Regions from separate parts of the Homo sapiens genome. Here all the other regions are linked to region 1. The links are contacts of gene promoters, found by promoter capture Hi-C in human tissues and cell types (Jung and others, 2019). All regions are on one chromosome and are shown on one strand. The core of a region is centred on a gene start or on the middle of the fragment in contact, and the rest is flanking DNA. Distances in the headings are between cores, read along the strand shown. Region 1 holds the start of ANKHD1 (ankyrin repeat and KH domain containing 1). Region 2 has its middle 8.0 kb from the start of CD14. Region 3 overlaps SLC35A4 (solute carrier family 35 member A4).

Evidence for each region. Contacts are between HindIII fragments. The study calls those that stand out against the background at their distance.
Region 2: a contact is called between a fragment that was not itself captured here and the fragment with the promoter of ANKHD1 in region 1, in 1 of the 25 tissues and cell types used here (hippocampus).
Region 3: a fragment that was not itself captured here is called in contact with the fragment with the promoter of ANKHD1 in region 1 in 1 of the 25 tissues and cell types used here (liver).

Annotation. Positions count from the first base shown.
Region 1 is chr5:140,399,782-140,404,901 of GRCh38, forward strand. It overlaps ANKHD1 (ankyrin repeat and KH domain containing 1), which reads left to right and starts at 2,052. Exons shown (of 34, transcript NM_017747.3): 1 at 2,052-2,492. The coding sequence starts at 2,187. It overlaps ANKHD1-EIF4EBP3 (ANKHD1-EIF4EBP3 readthrough), which reads left to right and starts at 2,052. Exons shown (of 36, transcript NM_020690.6): 1 at 2,052-2,492. The coding sequence starts at 2,187. ANKHD1-DT (ANKHD1 divergent transcript) reads right to left here and starts at 1,620. Exons shown (of 2, transcript NR_186045.1): 1 at 1,330-1,620. RefSeq lists enhancers at 646-795, 886-1,035, 1,126-1,175, 1,366-2,255. The HindIII fragment of the contact is 13,843 bases long and covers 1-5,120 here.
Region 2 is chr5:140,622,598-140,627,717 of GRCh38, forward strand. It overlaps a transcript of TMCO6 not described here. Among named protein-coding and RNA genes, the nearest start is that of CD14, 8.0 kb to the right of the region's middle. The HindIII fragment of the contact is 3,350 bases long and covers 1,407-4,756 here.
Region 3 is chr5:140,568,487-140,573,606 of GRCh38, forward strand. SLC35A4 (solute carrier family 35 member A4) reads left to right here. Exons shown (of 3, transcript NM_080670.4): 3 at 1-614. LOC131768270 (SLC35A4 upstream open reading frame protein) reads left to right here. Exons shown (of 3, transcript NM_001394034.2): 3 at 1-614. Among named protein-coding and RNA genes, the nearest start is that of SLC35A4, 6.2 kb to the left of the region's middle. RefSeq lists enhancers at 817-1,216, 1,248-1,749, 1,750-2,249. The HindIII fragment of the contact is 5,475 bases long and covers 1-4,765 here.

The DNA.
Region 1 (5,120 bases), core at 802-3,301:
CTCCCACCTCAGCCTCCTGAGTAGCTGGAATTACAGGCATGCACCACCATGCTCGGCTAATTTTTTTTTTTTTTTTGAGACGATGTGTTGCTCTGTCGCCTAACCTGGAGTGCAGTGGCACGATCTTGGCTCACTGCAAACTTCGCCTCCTGGGTTCAAGTGATTCTCCTGCCTCAGCCTCCCGAGTAGCTGGGATTACAGGCACGCACCATCACATCTGGCTAATTTTTGTATTTTTAGTATAGACGGGGTTTCGCCATGTTGGCCAGGCTGGTCTAGAACTCCTAACCTCAAATGATCCGCCCACCTAGGCCTCCCAAAGTGCTGGGATTAACAGGCGTGAGTCACCGCGCCGAGCCCAATTTTTGTATTTTTGGTAAAGACGGGATTTCACCATGTTGCCTAGGCTGGGCTCGAACTACTGGGTTCAAATGATCCGCCCGCCTCAACATCCCATAGTGTTGGGATTACAGGCGTGAGCCACGGCGCCCGCTATAGAATCTGAATATTTTTAACCCCCCTCTTTACTGACAAGATAAAGACAGAGATAGAGAGATGCATATAGGGAGGAAGAGATCTCCTTAGAGGAGGGAAGACCACCACAGCTAGCCTTGTTTTGCACCACACAGATCTGATTAGAACTAGAATTAGTTGGGCTGGCAGGACCCAGGGGCGAGCAGAGAGTTCCTGAAGGAAGAGGAGACAATAACTAGCAAAAATGAGTCTTTCCTGTAAGTTTGGGACTTTGCTAAGCGCTATATTATCATCTAATTTATTCATAACAACAACCCAATGAGGAAGGTACTAATATTACTCCCATTTCACAGAGGAGCGAGTTGAAAGTCACAAAAATGAAACAGCAAACGCGCCGAAGTCAGGCAGCAAGTAAGTGGCAGCACCAGAACTCGAAACTGCCTCGGAGCATGCACTCTTCACCACCCCGTTCCACCTTGAGGTCGGATTCCGCACGCCGTTCGCGGCATTCCCACCTTCCTACGTGGGACAGTTCCCGGTACTGAGGCATGGCGCTGTCCAGCCCTCAGGCCCGCAGCCGTCCGCAAGCAGGAGAACGCGGCCCCGCTGGGCGATCCTGCCCGAAGGCGCCCGAACTGCGGCGCGCGGCCGGGTCCTGGCGGGCGGGTCGAGTCTCCCCAAGGCGGCCATCCCAAGCAGCTCCCCGGATGTCCCTCAGACCCGCGCGCTAGGCTCAACTCAGAAAGGCGGGAGGCGCGAAGCGAGATCGGCCTTGCCCCTCGACTGTCCCCTCATCGCTCCCCGTCCTCTATTCCCTCCCAAATAGCCCCCGGCAAATAGGTTACACATCTTCACCTGTCCCAGAGGTGGTGACTGCTCTAGTGACTGACGCTACGCTCCTCCAACCAGGCAATGGCAGGAAGGTGGAGCCTTCCTAAGACTGATGGCTTCCTTTCTCCAATCCCGGTGCAGCTATTCTCCGGCCATAGTCTCGGCGCCCAGCGGAGAGCGACAGGTGGGAGCTGCGTTACTTCGGCGCCTCTTGCATCCTTGACGTAGAAGTTTCACCAAGCGCAGGGTGAAGTCTACTCCAAATTTGACCAATTCTTGCGGGTCATCACTTCAGCAGTCATTTTATTCAGAAGTGGAAATTTCCCGGCCCTTTCCCGTCACCTCAGATGAGGGCGGGATCAATGGTACTCCCACAGGCCAATTGTACCACGCGACGTCCCGCGACAAAGTGACCGACACTTTATGGCGCCAATGAATTCTCCCATTGTTCGGGGTCACTATGACTGACCACAAGGCCAACTAATCCACTTTAAGGTCGTGACGCGATAGTCAGGCGGGTTGGCCAATAGACATAGGAAAAGAGCGGAAGTCAGCTGGTGAAGAGTGGGAGGCGGGTGTTCGCAACCGCCTAGGCCTGCGCGGGTCAACGCAGCTTGGCGGCTGCGAGCCAGCGAGCGGCGCGTGACGAAGAGCCTGAGCGACGGGTCACTTTGGCCAATGATCTGCAGCCGCCAGGGTATTGCAGCCAGTGGCGAGTCGAGGGGGCGGGAGGCAGCAGGTTAGGCAGTGAGAAGTTAGTGGCGCTGCTGGGACGGGGGAAAGGAGACGCTTCTTCCTCTTGCTGCTCTTCTCGTTCCCGAGATCAGCGGCGGCGGTGACCGCGAGTGGGTCGGCACCGTCTCCGGCTCCGGGTGCGAACAATGCTGACTGATAGCGGAGGCGGCGGCACCTCCTTTGAGGAGGACCTGGACTCTGTGGCTCCGCGATCCGCCCCAGCTGGGGCCTCGGAGCCGCCTCCGCCGGGAGGGGTCGGTCTGGGGATCCGCACCGTGAGGCTCTTTGGGGAGGCCGGGCCAGCGTCGGGAGTCGGCAGCAGCGGCGGCGGCGGCAGCGGCAGCGGTACGGGCGGAGGGGACGCGGCGCTGGATTTCAAGTTGGCGGCTGCCGTGCTGAGGACCGGGGGTGGAGGTGGTGCCTCTGGCAGTGACGAGGACGAAGTGTCCGAGGTAAGGCTCCGGGACCCTCGCCTCCCACACATTGTGAGGCGTGAATTCTCTTTGGGTAGGCTCTGGGCCGGGGCCATCCTCCCGCTTCCCTGGTGGAGCCCTTCTGTGACAGCGGTCGGCTCCATGGCGGCGGTGGCCGCGGTGAGGGCCTAGTGAGCCCTCGGCTTACTCTTTAGCTCGAGCGGGACAGGTTCCCGTCACCATTCGTAGACCCACAATAGGGAGTCCTTTGGTCTCTGAGCTTCGCGCGGGAACAGGGACTCCTCAGGCTGCCTCCCGCCCACCCTGCTTTGGAGTTGGGGGTGGGGGGCGGGGTCTTGCCAGAGTCCCTGCCCTTGGTACTGAGAGAGACAAACAGAGACAGAGACAGAGCTGGTGCAAAGATCGTTTCTCTTCTTTGCCTCTCCTCAGAGTTGAGGGATACGTTTATTTGCCTTCTGCCTTGTGTGTGTCTTACCTGTGTGCTTAAGGACGGTTCTTATTCTCCCTCTTCAGTTTGAGACAGGTTTGAGTATTAGGGATCTCTCGGCTTTTACCCTGAAAAATCACGTGACTCCTCCTTCTGGGACCTTTTGTGAAGTTAGACAGGAAAAGGAAGTTCCAGGGCATCCCTGAGCTTCGGAATAGCTGGGTAGCTGAACTCGGAGGTTTTAGGCTTGGAGAAAGTGGGGCAACCTGTGGAAACCTCTTCTTTTTTTTTTTTTTTTTTTTTTTTTTGAGATGGAGTTTCGCTCTTGTTGTCCACGCTAGAATACACGTGATCTCAGCTCACTGCAACCTCCGCCTCCCGGGTTCAAGCGATTCTCCTGCCTCAGCCTCCCGAGTAGCTGGGATTACAGGCGTGCGCCACCACGCCCGACTAATTTTGTATTTTTATTAGATACGGGGTTTCACCATGTTGGTCAGGCTGGTCTCGAACTCCTGACCTCAGGTGATCCGCCCGCCTCGGCCTCCCAAAGTGCTGGGATTACAGGTATGAGCCACCGTGCCCGGCTGGACACCTTCACTCTGCCTTTGCAGTGAAGTCCTTCATTTCTTTAACTCTTCTGTGTGTACTCTAATGTGTACACATTTTTAGGTCTGAGCAACCTGGGATGGTAGGCATTAACTTCTTTTGGGTTCTGGGGAAAAAGGGGCGGGTTTTGTTTTTGTTTTTTGAGATGGAGTTTCGCTCTGTCGCCAGGCTGGAGTGCAGTGGCGCGATCTCGGCACACTGCAACCTCCGCCTCCTGGGTTCAAGCGATTCCCCTGCCTTAGCCTCCTGAGTAGCTGGGACTACAGGCGCGTGCCACCACTCCCGGCTAATATTTTGTATTTTTTAGTAAAGACAGGGTTTCACCATGTCCAGGATGGTCTCGATCTCCTGACCTTGTGATCCCAAGGGGCGGTATTTTATGTGTATACTTTTTTCTGTTGACTGTGGCTTGCGTAGAGTACTGTACCGTGATTGTTTTAAGTGCTCAGAGTATTTCTTCTATTTTGGTTCTGAGGTGCCTGAGTTGTCACCTGTGACCAGTTATTTTAACCTCTGGTCTTGGTGTTAAAGTACAGGAATTTCTCTGTGTGTACTAACAATCCCGGCTCTTGGATTTGAGAGGAATAAGGAGAAATTATTTGTGGGTTACAGACTGCAGTTAGTATACTGTCTTATCATTCTAGGTCTGAACAGGGTTTTATTTAATATTTAAAACCTTAGTACATTCTGACCCTAACATTTTGCTTTGGAAAAAAAAGTGTGTGGGTTATAAGGCGGGTAGTCCCTTGAATGTCTACGTCTTTGAATTTCACGGTAAGGGAAATAACTTCTAAGCCAAGGTGAGAGAAATGTTTTATTTGAGTAGGCAGTTATGGGGAGAGACTCTGGAGTATCCCTGCTCTTGGTCTTGTGGAAGGCTTTATTTTATCCTTTCAGTGAAACGTGAGAGATTAAGCTAGAACACAGTACTTTTTAGCTAGGAAATGAAGTGTGGGGGATATCCTTAGACTAAAGATTAGAGCTTATTTTCTATGAAACTTGTAAATGAGAATCTGAAAGAGTTTGCTTTGGTCTAAATGTGATAGAAAAAGGGGACCTTGATTTTCTTGACCATTTTTACATAATTGTCATGGGTGAGATGAAAGGTCACTCATTTGCCTTTTTTTTTAATTTTAATTTTTTGTTTTTTTTGTTTTTTTTGAGACTGTGTCTTGCTCTTGTCACCCAGGCTGGAGTGCGGTGGCTCGATCTTGGCTCACTGCAACCCCCGTCTCCCAGGTTCAAGCTATTTTCCTGCCTCAGCCTCCCTAGTAACTGGGATTCCAGGTGCCTGCTACCACGACTGGCTAATTTTTTTGTATTTTTAGTAGAGACGAGGTTTTACCATGTTGGCCAGGTGGGTCTCAAACTCCTGACCTCAGGTGATCGCCCTCTCAGAGTGCTGGGATTACAGGCATGAGCCACCACGCCCGGCCTTAATTTTTTTTTTTTTTTTGAGACAGGTTTTGCTATGTTGTCCAGGCTAGCCTCAAACTCCTGGGCTCGGGTGGTCCTCCTACCTCAGCCTCCTAAGTAGCTGGGACTATAGGCACACGCTACTGTGCCTGGCAACCATTTGCTTTTTTATAAGTAATAGTCTTAAATTTCTTCAC
Region 2 (5,120 bases), core at 1,832-4,331, 220 kb after region 1:
TCCAGATACATGGAAAGACTGTGTGAAGAATGTTACAGAAAGCGGTGGAAGGGAACAACGAAAATAAGAAATGTGCTAGAAGCTTGTACACCAGCTGGGTTCTCCTTACTGCCAGGGCTTTAGCTACAAAAAAAAAAAAAAAAAAGAAAGAAAAAAGAGAAAAAGGCTTCTGAGCAATGCATGGGGAAACGTTTTTGGACACCAAAAACTACAAGCAAGCATCTGACTAGAGGGACTGAAGAAATTTCTGGCTTTCTGTATGATTTTACTTTCTTTTTATGTATTTATATTTTATTTTTTAATAGAGACTGGGTCTTGCTGTGTTGCCCAGGCTGGTCTCGAACCCCTGGGTTCAAGTGATTCTCCCAGCTTGGTCTCTCAAAGTGCTGGGATAACAAGCATGAGCCACCATGTCTGGCTTTGATTTTGCTTTCTGCTTTGAATTCTCAAGGTATAACACAGATGTTCTGGAACAGGAATTAAAAGAAATTAAGGAGTGTGTAAGCAGAAACTAAGTTGTATGTAAGAAAACCCAGTTCCCCTTGAGAAAGAGAAAGAGCTGGAGTCCTTTAAAAACTAACTGCCTATTTTTCTATGGCTAGTGAGCCTTATCTCTCCTCCTTTCCCAGGCATTGTGAAGACCCTGTTTCCCTAGCTGTGCAGCTGCAAAGTCACTAGACAGATAAACTCAAGTTGCAAAACATGTTTTTCCTTGAAAAGTAAGAAATGATGTAATGCATGTCTCAATTAATTAAATAACTGTCTTTGTTTCTCACTTCTGTAGCATGCTTCCCCCTGTACAGATCTCCCCCACCCCACAAAATGCTTAAAAGGTAACTTAACTCTTTGTTCAGGGCTCAGTCCTTTGGATGTTAATCTGACTGGGCCAGTGCACCTAAATAATTAATAAATATCATCCTGAACCCCATCGGTCTCTCTGATTCCTTAAAAATCCCGCAACAGTTCAAGTTACAAAATAACATGTTTTAAGACAAATAATTAAGTTTAAGCCACAGGGCGAAATGTATCTATGCTCACATCTTTAGTGATTTCATCAAGTCTTATAACTTAGGCCTCAAACCATAGAGTCATCCCTGAGCCCACCTTTTTTCTCTTTTTTAAAAATTTAGTTGAATTTTTATACTTAAAACATTTTAAAAAAATAGAGATGGAGGGTCTCAGTATGTTGCCCAGGCTAGTCTCAAACTCCTGACCTCAAGTGATCCTCCTGCCTTGGCCTCCCAAAGTGCTGGGATTATAGGCATGAGCCACCTTGCCCAGCCATCCCTTTCTCATGTTCCACCCTTTATATGTAAAAATCCTGTGAGCTCTGTCTTCAAAAAATGCGCATAATTTGACCATTTCCCCCCACTTCTACTATCCTGATCCAACTGTCACCATGTTTTTGTGTGGGTTTTCTTAAACAGCTTTATATTGAGTTGTGATTCACAACAAATAAAATTCACCCTTTTAAAGTATTTAATTTAGGCTTGGCGTGGTGACTCATGCCTGTAATCCCAGCACTGTGGGAGGCTGAGGTGGGCAGATCACGAGGTCAGGAGTTTGAGACCAGCCTGACCAAAATGGTGAAACCCCGTCTCTACTAAAAATACAAAAATTAGCCAGGCCTGGTGGTGCCTGCCTGTAATCCCAGCTACTCAGGAGGCTGAAGCAGGAGAATCACTTGAACCTGGGAGGCGGAGGTTGCAGGAGCCGAGATCACACCTTTGCACTCCAGCCTGGGTAACAGAGTGAGACTCCATCTCAAAATAAATGAATAAATAAATAAATAAATAAAGTATTCAATTTAGTGGTGTTTATTATATTACCAGAGTTGTGTAACTATAACCGCGCTTTAATTTTAGAACATTTTTATCACCCCAAAAAGAAATTCTGTATCCCATTAGAGGTCATTCCCCTTGACCACCCCACTTCTAAGCAACCACAAATCTTTGTGTCTCTATCTATCATCATTTCTTTTTTTATTTTTATTTTTGAAACGGAGTCTCACTCTGTGATCTTGGCTCGCTGCACCTCTGCCTCCCAGGTTCAAGTGATTCTTGCACCTCAGCCTCCCGAGTAGCTGGGGCTAATTTTTTTTTGTATTTTCAGTAGAGACAGGGTTTTGCCATATTGGCCAGGCTGGTCTCGAACTCCTGACCTCAAGTGATCCACCCACTTTGGCCTCTCAAAATGCTGGTATTACAGGCATGAGTCACTGCACCCAACCTCACCATCATTTCTTTCTTTCTTTCTTTCTTTTTTTTTTTTTTTTGAGATGGAGTCCTGCTCTGTGCCCAGGCTAGAGTACAGTGGCATGATCTTGGCTCACTGCAACCTCTGCCTCCCAGGTACAAGTGATTCTTCTGCCTCAGCCTCCTGAGTAGCTGGGATTACAGGCGCTTGGCACCGCGCCTGGCTAATTTTCGTATTTTTAGTAGAAACGGGGTTTCACCGTCTTGGCCAGGCTGATCTCAAACTCCTGACCTCATAATACATCCGCCTTGGCCTCCCAAAGTGCCAGGATTACAGGCGTGAGTCACTGCACCCGGCCTCCATCATTTCTTGACTGGGTTATTGGTATAAATTCCCAACGAGTCTTCTAACTTACTCTCTATAGTTTACTTTCAACACAGCAGCTAATGTGATCCTTTAAAAATGGAAACCAGTTTATGTTACCCTTTGTCAGTATCCTCAGGTGGCTCTCTATTTCACCTGAGTGAAAACCAAGCTTCACAGTGGCCTGTGAGCCTTAAACAACAATTGAGGCCACTTGCTATCTCTCTGATATCATTGCCAATGTCTTCCAGGGCCTTTGTACTGGATGTTTCCTCTTCCTGGACTGCTCTTCCAGCAGATAACTACAAGGCTCACTCTCTCACCTCCCTTAAATCTTTGCTCAGAAGTCACCTCATGTGAGGTCTATTCTAACAACTATAAACTTGCAATCCTTCACCCTTATGCCCAGCAATCCTGACTGTTTTGGCTCAGCTCTATTTTCCCCACAGCACTTACCATCATCTAGCACTTTATACTTTCTTCTCCCCACTGCAATATGAACACTTTAAGAGCAGGAACTTTTGTCGCTTTGCTCACTATAAGTGCTTTGTCCTCAGCACTTCCAAAGTGCTTGTCAGGTAGTGGGAGCTCAATAAATAATTGTTAAATGGATGAATAAATTAATGACCAGAACATTCCAGGCAGAGGGAAGAACAAGAGGCAAAGGAAAGAATGGCTAGAATATGTTGGGGGTGATGTTGGTTTACAAGGTGGAGATGACAGTAGAGGAGGCATAGGGAGTTGCTGACCATGTCTCCCTATGTTCTCTGTCTCAAGTTCTAAGTTCTCTTCCTATTTCTCTGTCTCCTTTGAAGACCCTGCTTTCTCCATCCTGAAATGTTGACTGATGATTCCCAGTTTCCTTCTTTAGCACGGTCTCTTCTTTCTCCCCTCCTGGCCTGGGTGAACTTACTCATGGCTATTCATGGCTACGGTTTCCACAGGCATTTCTACACTGATGGCTCCCAAATTCTTATAGCCAGGCCAAACCTGTCCCCTAAGCTCTAGCCCCTATGGCTAACTGCCTACTGGACTGTCCACCTGTGAGTGGCTCTAAGCAACCTATGCCCAGTCTTCTTTTTTTTTTGAGATGGAGTCTTGCTCTATCACCCAGGCTGGAATGCAATGGTGTACTATTAATGTCAAACCCAATTCTTAATAAAACCTTATAGAAAAAGATATCCAATTTTAATCAGTTTGACCATAAGGTAAGAGTCTCATAAACCTTTTATTACCCTTTATATATTTTTTCTTTATTTTTTAAGACAGAATCTCACTTTGTCACCCTGGCTGGAGTGCAGTGGCATGCTTTCAGCTTACTGTAACTTCTGCCTCCTGGGTTCAAGTGATTCTCCTGGCTCAGCCTCCCAAGTGTCTGGGATTACAGGCATTGTATCCCATTAGAGGTCATTCCCCTTGACCACCCCACTTCTAAGCAGCCACAAATCTTTGTGTCTCTATCTATTATCATTTCTTTTTTTATTTTTATTTTTGAAACAGAGTCTCACTCTGTGATCTTGGCTTGCTGCACCTCTGCCACCATGCCACCATGTCATGCTAATTTTTTGTATGTTTAGTAGAGATGGGGTTTTGCCATGTTGCCCAGGCTGGTCTTGAACTCCTGACCTCAGGCAATCCTCCTGCCTTGGCCTCCCAAAGTGCTAGGATTACAGGCATGAGCCAAAGTGCCCAGCCTATATTTTACTGTTAAAGAGCAGATCAGTGCTCTAAGAAAACTCTATTGTGCTTTTATTCCAATGTTCAATTTATGGAAAAATTGAATACCCCTTTAACTTTAGCCAGTATGTCCACAGACAGAATTTATATTTCATAAACCTGCCACAACTTGCTCAAAGCTTCTACTTTTCCCTATCCAACTTAAAATAATACTTTAACCCCCTAAACTAGGCAAAAAAAAAATCCACATTCCTGTGCCTTCTTATAATCTTTTGCCAAAAACACATTCACTTTCCTTACGCACTTTCCATGTAAAACTGTTTCTCTACTAGTCTCAATTGCATATGTTACAATGTTACGTCTCAGCAACTTTTTTTTTTTTTTGGTGAAAAACCTGGTAAGTAAGCAATTTTAATTATGTACCAGGTGTGGAGCCTAGGACACCAGACAGAAGTGCAGATAAGGTCTGATCTTTCCAGCATAGCTAGAGGGCATGGCTAACTCCACATGTCTCTAGGCATTACCTAGAATCTAATGGTTCCAAAGCAGGTAAGTTGAACAATGATCATATCAAGGAAGCAGTTTATGTAGTTTAGTAAACTCAGTGTCTGACCTGCCTAATTTAGACCAAATGTATAAATTTTGAAGACATTTTTATTTTACCAATAATCTTTAAAACTGTCTTTATTTCCCAAGGATTACTAAAGTCATATGAACTAAAAGGCATTAAAGTTTTAATTTTTCTGACAAAATATTTAAGTGCTTTTTCTTTAAGCCAATTAATTAGAGCTCTTTTATATAAACATTACACACACACAACATATGTAAATAGACAGACAGAAGAAGATCCAGTTATTGTAAGCTTTTTCATTTGCCAGTTTTTA
Region 3 (5,120 bases), core at 778-3,277, 170 kb after region 1:
TTGATGAAAGTGGGGTGTGGGCAACAAGTGGCTTTCCTTGCCTACTTTAGTCACCCAGCAGAGCCACTGGAGCTGGCTAGTCCAGCCCAGCCATGGTGCATGACTCTTCCATAAGGGATCCTCACCCTTCCACTTTCATGCAAGAAGGCCCAGTTGCCACAGATTATACAACCATTACCCAAACCACTCTGACAGTCTCCTCCAGTTCCAGCAATGCCTAGAGACATGCTCCCTGCCCTCTCCACAGTGCTGCTCCCCACACCTAGCCTTTGTTCTGGAAACCCCAGAGAGGGCTGGGCTTGACTCATCTCAGGGAATGTAGCCCCTGGGCCCTGGCTTAAGCCGACACTCCTGACCTCTCTGTTCACCCTGAGGGCTGTCTTGAAGCCCGCTACCCACTCTGAGGCTCCTAGGAGGTACCATGCTTCCCACTCTGGGGCCTGCCCCTGCCTAGCAGTCTCCCAGCTCCCAACAGCCTGGGGAAGCTCTGCACAGAGTGACCTGAGACCAGGTACAGGAAACCTGTAGCTCAATCAGTGTCTCTTTAACTGCATAAGCAATAAGATCTTAATAAAGTCTTCTAGGCTGTAGGGTGGTTCCTACAACCACAGCCATGATTGTCTTGTGTCTTCTGTCTGCGCAACTCCCCTCAAACAATTTTGTTCCTCTGGGGTCCTGAGTATCTTAATTCTGGGATAACTTTTAGACTAAGAAAAAATTGTTTTCTCCAAGCTGTTGCCAGTGGCATTATTTCCTGTGAGAGTTCCATGGAACTGAGACATTTCCCTGTCATAGAGCTTTTGAAATTTCCCTGGAGCACAAAACTTGGGCCCAGGGGAATGCGGAGAGAGTCTTGGGAACAGCAGGTGCTGGGCCGAGCAGGACAAACTAGACTCTAGGCCAAAAAACTCTTAAGAAAGCCGATGTGGTTTCGGTTTTCATTTCCTCTGGTTCCCTTACAATTTCTGCCTGTCATCTGTCTTAAAATCATGGCCAGGGGAATGTCAGGCCCTGATTCTATGATAGAATATGTGGTGAGTTTCTAAAAAAAACCAAGGGGGTTGGGGGGGGGCCCTAGGCCTATCTTAGACCTATTAAAGCAGAATCTTAGGGAGTAGTGTTTGGGAATCTTTTTCTTCTTTCTCTTAAGCTCCCTAGGTGGTTCTGATGCACACAGAAGCTTGTAAGCCACTACTGTGCAGTGTAGAACTATGGACAGACTTGAATTTGAATTCTGGATCTTCCACTTAGCTGACTGTTCTTGGGCAGTTATTTAACCTCTCCTAGCTTTAGTTGCCTTATCCCTGAAATAAGGATCAAATGGTACCTACTATATGTGGTAGCTGGAGAGGCTAAATAAAATAATATTAGGCACTTAGTAAGGACTGGAACAATGAGACATGGTTTGTGTTATTAATTATCCATAATAAGGATCAGCTTGGTTTTGTCTCACCTTTTTCTCCCTTCTAGGACCCTCCAGAATGAGGAGACAAGAAACTTCCTCTAAAGGGTTCCTGTTAAGGTTTCTCCCCAGGACAGGTCCAGCATGACTACCCCCAGCCTAGTCTGCACCCTGCTGAAGCTGCTGGTTCTCAGCTTGGAGCTCCTGATTCTGTGTGGCCAGGTTGATGGTTTCTTCCAGGGTGCCCGCCAGCAGGCTGCAGTGATGATGCTCTGTGGTCATGGCCCCCTCCTCCCACTGGCCCTGCCAGGCTCAGAATACCTGTGCCCAGATTCAGAGATGCCTGTCACTCAGCCAGCCTTGGAGCCAGCTCAAGGCCTACCCTCCATCCCCACTGATGGGCAGCACATGGTGTGTCTGAGCTCGGGTGGCCTGCACATGCAGGTCATAGAGGGCTGCCAGGTCCTGCTCTGCTGTGTTCCGCTCTTCCTGAAGGGCCTCCAGCTGGAATCTCAGCACCATCTGTTCCTGCTGCCATCTCTGCCTCTCCTCGCAGGCCTTCAGTGATAACACATACTCTTTGGAGTGCCACCTGTGTGCCAGGCTCTGTGCTAAATACTTCAGGTGTATTATTTTATCCAATAACAACCATATGTGGCATTGCCATCTTACAGATTTGGCAACAGTGGATCAAAGAAGTGACCTAACTTGCCCAAATTCTCATGGCTAGTAAAGGTCAGAGCTGACATGGCACATGCCTTTCAATGGTTTGCAGCTCTCCTTGGGGTAAAGTCCAAAGCCAGAGCTGTGGCACACACTTGTCTCTTTAGCCTTGCTTCTGACTACGCACCTGTTCAGCTCCAGCCAGACTGGAGAATTTGCAGTTCCCAGACCCACTTTGCCATTGCTTCCCTCTGAACTTTTGCTTATACTGTTTTGTCTTCTCTAAGAACATGTCCCCACTCCACCCACCCCCCATCAGTTACTGATGAGCAGTAACTGCCCTTGTTAAGCTCAGTGTCCAGTGAATTCCCCTGGCTGATCTCTGCCTGTCCTTTGAGGCTCAACTTAGATTCCATCTCCTCTGATCCACTCCAGCCTGGGTCAGATATGCCTTTTTGGTCCCACACAACCCTAGATCCCCCATCCCATCACTTAGCACTGAGAATTGCCTCATCTATCCCTGACAAGGCTGTGAGGGCCATGAGAGAGGGTATGAACTGGTCGGTTGTGATTGATGATGGATCCTAGCCCCTAGCACAGTGCCTGGACCAATTAGAGCCTCAAGTCCCCTATTTGACCCTCCTTACCTCCTCTTCAGCCACCAGGCCTTTGACCTGGTCATCTGCCACCTCCTCCTTCTGTTCCAAATGCTTCAGCTTCTCTCGAATCCAAATTTGGTGCTGCTCCCTCAGTCTCTGCCTCTGGGCCTGGGCCAAGAAGAGCGGCCGGGCCACATCTGGTATCTGCTGGGCTTGGTCAGAAGTTCATGTGTGTGCACGGATTTAGGACCAGAGCCCAACTTTTCCAATAGAACCTCATCACCAGGGCTGCTCCCAGAACAACATCCAGGACCTAACTAGCCTGGAAGAGCTTGTAGCCTGGGCAGAGACTCAGGAGGCCATGGTGGGGAGAGGAAGGTAGTGGCTCTGCCAGGAGGTGCCATAGTGCCTCTAAGGATCCTATACCCTTAATCCAATAAGTAGGAAAACAGTCCCTCCCCATGGCCTTGCCTTAGGGGTCTAGTCACCTTCAGGTCCTTTATTTGTCAAAAACTTCATATTTCTCCCTGATATTGGGGCAGGGTAAGCAGGGGCACATTAGCTGGGCTCTGCAGCTCTTCACTCCCCCTACAGCTTCTAGTCGTTCCTGGGGTACATGAGGTATTACCTATTCCTTAGGGTGCCTGAGAGGATTCTTTTGGTGGAGCCACGCCTTAGAGTTGCCATTCTTCCTGCCACTAGAGGAAAATGTAATTAATCACACCAAAGGCAGGGAAGACGTCCCACTCCCAGCTCATCCCCAAGTCCCAGACCCACCTTGGGGCTCTCCCTCGAGGCATGGGCTCTGGTTTACTGGTGACTCTATCACCTGCTGAGAAGATATTAGAAGTGATCGTTCCACACCTTTCCTCCCAGTACAGTGTAGGTTAAGATCAGGGCTTGGAAATCAGACAGATCAGGGTCCCAGCCCCTCCTCTTCTTAGCTGAATGACCTCGAGCAGGTGACTGGCCTAGTCTCCATGTGCTTCTCTATCAAATCGAGCTGATAAAAGTTGTGGAGAGAATGAAATGAAGTACTGCACCGAAAGCACTGGGCAGTAAGGCACTTGCTCAATAAATAGGAGCTACCATGCCTGATTCCCAAGCCCCAAGGCTGTAAAAACAAGTTCTAAGCAACTATGAAAAAAGAAGAGAAAGGCCAGGAGAGGCTGGACAGGGACAGGGTTTCAACCACCCTGTGATAAATCATGGAAGACCAGAAAGGCCATGCAGCCTAAGGAGATGAAAGAGCACTAGATTAGGAGTCTAAGGACTTGAGTGTGATTATACTTCTGCTGCTCCTGATTATGCCTGTGACCCCAGGCTCACAGGTCTCACATCTTTTATTTTTCTTTTTCTTTTTTATGACAGAGTCTCGCTGTGTCACCCAGGCTGGAGTGCAGTGGTGCAATCTCAGCTCACTTCAACCTGCGCCTCCTGGGTTCAAGTGACTCTCCCACCTCAGCCTCCTGAGTAGCTGGGACTACAGACATGCGCCACCATGCCTGGCTAATTTTTGTATTTTTTAGTAGGGACGGGGTTTCACCATGTTGGCCAGGCTGGTCTCGAACTCCTGGCCTCAGGTGATCTGCCCATCTCAGCCTCCCCAAGTGTTGGGATTACAGGCGTGAGCCACTGCGCCCAGCCCTCTCACATCTTTTCTTTTTTGAGATGGAGTTTCACTCTTGTTGCCCAGGCTGGAGTCCAATGGCGTGATCTCGGCTCACTGCAACCTCTGCCTCCCAGGTTCAAGTGATCCTTCTGCCTCAGCCACCCGAGTAGCTGGGACTACAAGCGTGCGCCACCACACCAGGCTAATTTTTGTATTTTTAGTAGAGATGGGGTTTCTCCATGTTGGCCAGGCTGGTCTCAAACTCCTGACCTCAGGTGATCCGCCCACCTCGGCCTCCCAAAGTGCTGGGATTACAGGCATGAGCCACCGCGCTCAGCCTCACATCTTTTCTTTAAGCCTCAGTTTGCTCACCTGAAAAGGGCACAGTGCTCTTTCCTGCTTAAAATACTTCTGTGGCTCACCTGTGACCTTTAAGACAAAGTCCAAACACCTCTGTTTTGCAAAGCCCTGTGTGACCTGGCCCCTGCTGTCCTCTCCAATACTTCTCTCCTGACTCTTCCTCAAGTTCTGTTCTTCAATAAATTGAGCTACTTGCACTCCCTCAAGGGGACCAAGCACTTTCTTGCCTCTGAGTCTTTGCCTGTCATTCTCTCTGCCTTCAGGTTCTTCACTCATCTTTGTTGACCTCCTTCAGGAATCACTTCCTCCATGAAGTCTTCCATCCCTCTCTTGCCAAGGCTAACTTAGATGCCCCACAGAATTCTGTGTTTATAAGCCTTTCAGAGCACCGATTATGGTGGTGCAATTGTTTCCTCCCAGGAGATTATAAACTCCATGAGGGCAGGGAATTCCCAGGGCCTATGTGGCACTGGGCCCAGCATAC